Linked DNA regions of Homo sapiens: region 1 is linked to region 2. Evidence: promoter capture Hi-C in 16 types of primary human blood cells and fetal thymus (Javierre and others, 2016). All regions are on one chromosome and are shown on one strand. Each heading gives the region's core, a stretch centred on a gene start or on the middle of the fragment in contact. The rest is flanking DNA. Distances are from core to core; before and after follow the strand shown. Region 1 has its middle 500 kb from the start of MIR4432. Region 2 holds the start of BCL11A (BCL11 transcription factor A).

The links. Contacts are between HindIII fragments. The CHiCAGO score rates a contact against its expected background, and 5 or more counts as called.
Region 1: a fragment that was not itself captured here is called in contact with the fragment with the promoter of BCL11A in region 2 in 1 of 17 cell types (fetal thymus); the score reaches 6.5 in fetal thymus.

What each region holds. Positions count from the first base shown.
Region 1 is chr2:59,883,131-59,887,052 of GRCh38, reverse strand. No RefSeq gene overlaps it. Among named protein-coding and RNA genes, the nearest start is that of MIR4432, 500 kb to the left of the region's middle. The HindIII fragment of the contact is 2,640 bases long and covers 956-3,595 here.
Region 2 is chr2:60,552,388-60,556,103 of GRCh38, reverse strand. BCL11A (BCL11 transcription factor A) reads left to right here and starts at 2,450. Exons shown (of 4, transcript NM_022893.4): 1 at 2,450-2,888. The coding sequence starts at 2,834. RefSeq lists enhancers at 1-566, 1,141-1,190 and silencers at 811-940, 1,881-1,970, 3,380-3,716. The HindIII fragment of the contact is 6,342 bases long and covers 1-3,716 here.

The DNA of each region.
Region 1 (3,922 bases), core at 1,026-3,525, 670 kb after region 2:
CCCCAAGCACCTGATTTTGGAAGAGTTTTGGTTTGCACAGCCCAAAGTGACAACTTCCTTTGAGAGAGTCTGTGTAAAAAGACTTTCAATCTTTCAAACAGGGCCAGCACTGTGGGGATATGAAGTAGGCGGCTGGCTTTCTGGCGTGTGATGTGTAGGATACACCAGGAGAGTGTGTCCCCCCACCCCACCCCAGAGTCTTCCCAATGGCTTGACATCTTGTCACATTATAGTTCTTTTTTGGATAAAGGCATTTCCAGAAGGCCCTTGTTAAAATGCTAATCTCTTACATTAAATCACAGATACATTGATGGGATGAATTTATCAGTGAAGGGGCTGGCCCTGGGGGACTGAAGACACACAAACATTTTGGTGGTGAGGAGGGGAGAGATGGGTGTCTCGGTGGGAGACACCCACCGAATCTCTAGGAGGCATTCAGCTGTGGGCCTGGGCAGGCCGTAGGGGGGTCTCTTGTTTCCTAAGGCTGTGGCTCAGAACATTCTTGGTGGCATGATAGTAGGAAGTGGCCAAAAATGTAAAACTTTATCTGTGTCAAGATTTTACTGAGTGCAGATCCCCTCCCTGACTAAAACTAATCATTAAAAGAGGTGGCTTCTCTGTTACTTTTAATGCTCATTTGCATTATGGCTTGCCGAAGATATCAATTTTCTCTTTTCTGAGAAGTGAAATATTATTCATCTGAAGCATTTTAAGGGGAGAATCGAAAGGAAGGTAGAATCGATAGGTTCAGCTTTGAGGTTGATTTTCTTTATTTCATCCTTGAGTTGGGAGTTTCAGTGATGTGAAAGAAAAAGATGGGGACAAATCTAACACAATGAAAATAATGTTTCCTTTTCAAAGCTTTATTTACAACAAAGTGAAAAGAAGATAAATGTTGTAAAATATAGATACTTTACAATTGTAATTTCTATTAATTTCTCACCTCAGTGAAGCTTGGGTGCCCAGAATGTGACAATCATGTTGTCATATGTGACCTTGCCATTGGGAAAATGTTTGTGGGTCCTCAAATTTCTTAAAGGGGGATGCCCTTAAATCAGGAAACTTTAACATTAAGAAATGACTCACTCATGTGAACTTCTTCAGAGGGATGTTGATTTTCTTTGAAAGTTGAAACCCTGGTTGTTGCAGCATGTGAAACATTTAATTTATCCAATGCCTCTGTGAATGCGTGGATGAAATTTCCCGGAGGGCTCCCCGTACTTATCATTTTTCCCTCTCAAGCACACACAGCCAAGGAAGTGGGCCAGCAGACACCCTGAACTTCCGCCAAACCGAGCTGCTCTGAGCCTCCCTCTCCTGGCCTGAGAACAAAAAACAAGCCCTCCTCCTTGCCTTTCCTTTAGAAGTGGAGGTGGGGTGTAGGGGTGAGAGGTGCTGCACGAGTGTTTAAAAGGTGGAGATCATTTGACTTGGTAAACTGTAGTTCCTTAAAGAGCAAAAAGAGGTTAGTATATGTCTGTGCCTTTGTCAAAAGCCAGTGAACTCATCTAGGGCCCACTGGAGGCTCGGTCGGGGGTCAGGAGGATCTCCTCTGTCCAGGCAGTGGGCACAGGACAGCGTCAGGTCTCGGCCCATCCTTGTCTCTCAGATGAGGGTGTGTGACCAGTTTCAGAGTCAGCAATGCAAGGACAACTTCCTGTTTCTTTCAGGCCAGATGAGTTTGAAGTTAAAATATCATTCCTTCACATTAATCCAAAAGTTAACACATTAATAAATATATTAATTAATGAAATCACCGTCTGTTTATTGAATATGAGTCATTGTGTTAAGTGCTAAAGGATGCAAAGATAAATGAGAAACAGTTATTGTCAAGGAACAGCAATAGAAAGACATGTACAAATAGCTAAAATATGAGGTATCATTTTGTTATAAAACATGATAAAATGTATAATACATATTGAATGTTATTATTACTTTTTATATTGGGCCTGATTTATTTCCGTATCCCCACATATAGCACAACTGTTTGATGTGGTGTATTTGCTCAATAAATAAATACTGATTAAATGTGAAAAATAGAAAGCATATAAACCAAATGCTTGGGTAGGGCTTTTCAAACTTGGACCGTATGAAAAGAACTGGGGAGCCCTTAAGAAATGCTGATCCAGGCCAGGTGCGGTGGCTCATGCCTGGAATGCCACCACTTTGGGAGCCTGAAGTGGGTGGATCACCTGAGGCCAGGAGTTTGAGACCAGCCTGGGCAACACGGTGAAACCTTGTCTCTACTAAAATTACAAAAATTAGCCCAGCATGGTGGTGCATGCCTGTAATCCCAGCTACTTGAGAGGCTGAGGTAGGAGAATTGCTTGAACTCAGGAGGTGGAGGTTTCAGTGAGCTGAGATTGCGCCACTGCACTCCAACCTGGGCAATAGAGCAACACTCTGCCTCTGAAAAAAAAAAAAAAAAAAAAAAAAGCTGACTCCCCGAGGTTTCCTTCCCAGGCATTCTGATTTAATTGGAATAGAAAATCAGCACTGGGAGGTGCTGCACCAGGGGACCTCATGAGGGACCTGGGAACTGTGCTTGGAGAGAAAATGGAGGTTGCTTCATAGAGGAGGTCATGTTTGAGCCTGAAGGTTGGGTATGAGGTAGGCAGGTTTTGATGGGGCTGGGGGCCAAGAAAATGGCATCCTTAGTAGAGGAAACAACACGGGGAAGGGCACAGGCTGGAAAGTGCACAGTATGTTCTGGATGAGTCAGAGCCTGGAGTGGCCCTACCATCTGCTGTCTGAGAAGGTGTATTGGGAAAAAAGAAGAGGCTGAAGCAATAGGTTGGGGTTAGATTGTGGAGGGACTAGTATGCTTCTCCAAAAACTTTGAATTTATTTTACACATCCTGGGGAACGACTGGGGGTTTGGAAGTTGGCAAGTGGTATGGTCAGATCTTTGTTTTAGGAAAGCACTGTGAAAAATGAACTGGATGTAGGGAGAACTGGAAAAAAGGAGTCCAATTTGGAAGCTATGGCTTATGATAGAATAGATGAGGGAGGAGGCAAATTTGAACTAGACCAATTTGGATGGGAGTGTAGAGGAGAGAGTGGATTTGGGAGACATTTATGAGAGATCACCTTCAATAGATGTGTTGGATAATTGTATAGTGAGGTTAAAGTCCAGGGTGCAGGGAGTGAACCCAGAAAGAATACAAGATGGGGAGCAAGTTCTGAAACAGGCAATAGTGTGGGCAGGAGAACAATATAGAGAGGCCTAGAGGAACTTTGGTAATACTCCTTCTGAAGTCATGAACCCTATCTCTCATTGCTTAGGTCCTTGTTTTTGGTTTTCCTTTCAGCCCCATCATAAAACAAGTACACATTTTGTTTAACAGCATATATGAAATGCTAGCTCTCTAGTTTTGATCACCAGAGCTGCTGTTTAACTCACAGCTTCTAGAAGCAGGCCATTTGCAGCTCTTACACCTTCCTGAAAAAATGAAGGTTTTGAATAAAAGCCAGTCATAGAATTAAGTCAGGACAAAGTGGTGTCGGGGTGAAATTCAAAAGACAATACGTAATAATTGGTTTTAGAACAGGAGCCAGATGAATCATAAGGTCAGACATATGAAAGGAAAAAGCTTTCTCCAGAAGACTTGGGGGCTAAGGCTACAAAGGGCTGTTTGAAAACAAAGTGGCAGGGATTGTGGTAGGGCCTCCAAGTGAGACCTGCTCTCGGGAACCTGCTCTCCATTCCAATATGTCTGAAAACACTCGGTGAGAAGAAATAGATCTGTCTCTTCCAACTTTTTATAGCTTCCGTAGAAAGCTATTTCCACTGTGTCTGTAGTCATTGCTTTGTTTCCTCCAGACCATCCACTGGTCAGAGAGAAGGAAGACAGGGTCAGAATGTCAATGTGTCTACTGGAAACCACTGGTCACTGTGGGACCTAAGTGTGGGGTCTCAGAG
Region 2 (3,716 bases), core at 1,201-3,700:
TTGCACTTTCTTCTTCCCTCTCTTCACCTTCCCTCCAACCGTCCCCCACGTCGTCCTCCCCCGCCACCCCCCAAGAAGACATTCTTTTGGTGACTCCAAGGCTGGTTTAACAAGACAAAAAGCAGACTGTGGTGGAATAGAGATGCTGACCTGCTCTGAAGAACTCAGTGAAAAGGGGAAATGGTGTCACACACAAGCTACAGAGCTTAACTTCTAGTGAATCCTCCCGCTTCTTAAACAGAATTTGAGGTCTCCCTCCCACAAACTGGAGGGAAACAACAACAAACAACAAACCACATTGACACAATCCCAGTACAGCCCACATCTCTCTCAATGTTGAGCATCAAAACCTCCTTTTCTTCCTTAGAGGGGTCCGAAGCTCCGCCGAGCTAGGCAAGCCAGTCATTTTCTAACACAGTAGACTTGAAACTTTACTAAGACGAAACAGGAATAAACAGCCGCTTGCCGGCAGGGCTGCGGGATGGGTGAGCGCGTGCAAGCCCGGGGCCCTCGCTTAAAACAATAAAGCCCCCCCACCGGGTGGGTGAGTTTACGGAAGCGACACCCTTTAGACTGAAGAGGGGGATGAGAAGACGGGGGTTGTGGAACCGCTCCGAGGAGAGGGAAGGAGGGCTCCTCGCTCTGCAGACACACTCACACATATCCACCTGCAGCTCAGGGTCTCGCGGGCCATGGCGACCCGTCTCCACCCTGCACCCTCCGCACCTCCCTTGGACCTGAGTCCATTCTCCTCTCCCCCCAACTCCTTCCAGATTTGGAATCGGACTGCGATCTCCCCGGCGGCGGCGGCGGCGGCTGCAGAGTGGTGCTGGCAGGCAGGGAGGCTGGGAGGCGGGAGGCGCCAGGGGACTTTACAGGCACGTTTCTGAATAAACTTTCCAATCGCAGGGGGTGCTGTTGCTGTACATTTTACGTAAAACTGAAAGTATCCCACGCCAGAGTGAAGCCCGCTTTTTGACAGCGGCAGCACGCGCGTGTGTGTGCGTGTGTGCATTAAAGAGACAGGGTTTTATTTCCAACAGGTCTTCCCTAATTTCCAGGGAACGTCTGCAGAAAGGCGAGAGGGGGCTGCTGGCTCCTGGGTGTGCGCCTTGGCCGGCGGCGCCTGGGGAGCGCGGCGGTGACCCGAGGCGGTCATCTCACCACCGTGGTCTCCCCGCTGCTCCTGCGAGCCTGTCGCTCTCTCTCCATTCCCATTTTCTCTTTCCCTGGGTAACAGCACAGGAACAGTTGTGCTCTGCCCGTAAGAAACATTTTCTTCCCATCCCTCTGTGCTTTTGCAGTTGCTCTGGAGTGGGAGGGGGTGTGTCCCTCCCAGGGACCCGGCTCGGGGACCTCCCGCGGCGCCGTGAGCACATTCCCAGGGACTGGGACTCCCGGGACTGCCCGCGCTTTGTCCTCGGCCTCTCAGAGAGGTGGACGCCTCGGTGCCTCTCTTGCCCAGGCCCCCGGCGCTCCCCTCCGGGGGCCAGACTCTGGCTCCTCGTTCTTTATTCCTCGGGCTCTCTTTCTGCGACCCTTAGGAGCCGGGGACTCGGCGCTTTCAGTTGCATTCAGACCCAGTCGCTTGGCGGGGCGCTCAGATTCCCGGTCCCTGGCTCGGCCTTGGGGGCGCCCTCGGGCCCCGGCCTGCGCCGCCTGCCTCTCCCCGGTCCCCTCTTTCCAGGCCGCGCGGGCTCCTGGAGACTTGGGCGCTGCCCTTCCGGACCCGCAGCCCTCCAAACTTAGGCTGGATTCCGCGTTGCCGTGCGCTCCCTCCCACCTCCCCTCGCCCGCTGCGGAGCTGTAACTTGGAGGCTCAGCTCTCAACTTCGGGTGATTTTTCTTTGCTGTCCTCTCCTCGGGCAAAGTTTCCCGAGCGCAGCCGCGGGCTCGGGGCTTTTACTTCGGCCCCTGGCGTCCACACGCGGGGAGCGAGCGCGGCGGCGGCGGGGAGGGGAAGTGGGTGTGCGTACGGAGGAGGGTGTCCGGGAGCAACTCTACCTGGCTTCCCTCCGCCCGCGCTTCCCCAGCCCGGGGCTGCAGCCTCCCGGTGCACTCTCGCTCTATTTTTTTCTTTTTTGAATAATCTTTCATTTTAGAGTCCGCGTGTGTGGGGGGGAGCAGGGCGCACGTCTTGCTCCCCCCCACCCTTTCCTCCCACCCCTGCCACCCCTTTCTTCTCTCCCGGCCACGCCACCGCCGCGGCGCTCGCTGCGGCCACTGGTGAGCCCGCGGCCCCAGCGCCCCCTCCCCTCGGCCCGCCCCTCCCCCGGGGGCCGCGTCTGGCGTCCGCGGAGCCCCCCGCCCCGCACCTCCCCCTCCCCGCACTGGCCATTGGCTTGTCCTGGTCTCTTTTTCATGTCCAGCCCCTGATGTGTGTCCATTGGTGTGAGCTTCCCCTTCCCTCCTCCCCTTCTCTCCTGCTCGCCCTGCCCATGTTTTGTGTGTCTCTGTCCATCCAGACTCCTGACGTTCAAGTTCGCAGGGACGTCACGTCCGCACTTGAACTTGCAGCTCAGGGGGGCTTTTGCCATTTTTTTCATCTCTCTCTCTCTCTCTCCCTCTATCTCTCTTCTCTCTCTCTCCCTCTTTTTTTTTTTTTTTTTTTTTTTTTTTTTGCTTAAAAAAAAGCCATGACGGCTCTCCCACAATTCATCTTCCCTGCGCCATCTTTGTATTATTTCTAATTTATTTTGGATGTCAAAAGGCACTGATGAAGATATTTTCTCTGGAGTCTCCTTCTTTCTAACCCGGCTCTCCCGATGTGAACCGAGCCGTCGTCCGCCCGCCGCCGCCGCCGCCGCCGCCGCCGCCCGCCCCGCAGCCCACCATGTCTCGCCGCAAGCAAGGCAAACCCCAGCACTTAAGCAAACGGGAATTCTCGCGTAAGTAACCCAATAATAGTAATAATAATTATTAATAATCACGAGAGCGCGCAGGACTAGAAGCAAAAGCGAGGGGGAGAGAGGGGTGTGTGCATGCATTTTTAAATTTTTCACGAGAAAAACCTCCGAGAGTCGAGGTAAAAGAGATAAAGGGGGAAAAAACCCTCATCCCATCTGGAACCATTGCCGTGTATGCACTTTTGAGACAGCACGCACCTTTTAATTTTATTTAATTTTACAAAAATTTGACTCCTCCTCTTTCCTCCTTTCCGCCGCTTTATTTCTCTTTTCGAAAAGGAATGCAATGATTCCACTCCCCCCCCGCCCCGCCAGTTTTGCAAAATAATGAACAATGCTAAGGTTGCGAACAACTCACATGCAAACCTGGGGGTGGGAGCTGGTGGGGAAAGGGAGGTTGCTTCCCACTCACCGTAAGAAAATGGGGGGGTAGGGAGGGAGTGAGTACAAGTCTAAAAAACGATTCCCGGGGAGAAAAGAGGTGAGACTGGCTTTTGGACACCAGCGCGCTCACGGTCAAGTGTGCAGCGGGAGGAAAGTAGTCATCCCCACAATAGTGAGAAAGTGGCACTGTGGAAAGGGGCCCCCGGCGCTCCTGAGTCCGCGGAGTCGGGAGAGGGGCCGCGGCGACGGGGAGAGCCGTGGGACCGGGAAGGACGGGAGACGCGGCCGGCACTGCCGCCTTTTGTTCCGGCCAGAGGTGGGTGTTTGTCCCGCTGCCTTTTGTGCCGGCTCCTCGCGCTTGCCCTCCCGCGCCGCCGCCGCCGCCGCCGCCGAAGGGCAGGAGCTAGGGCCGGGGGAGGAGGCGGC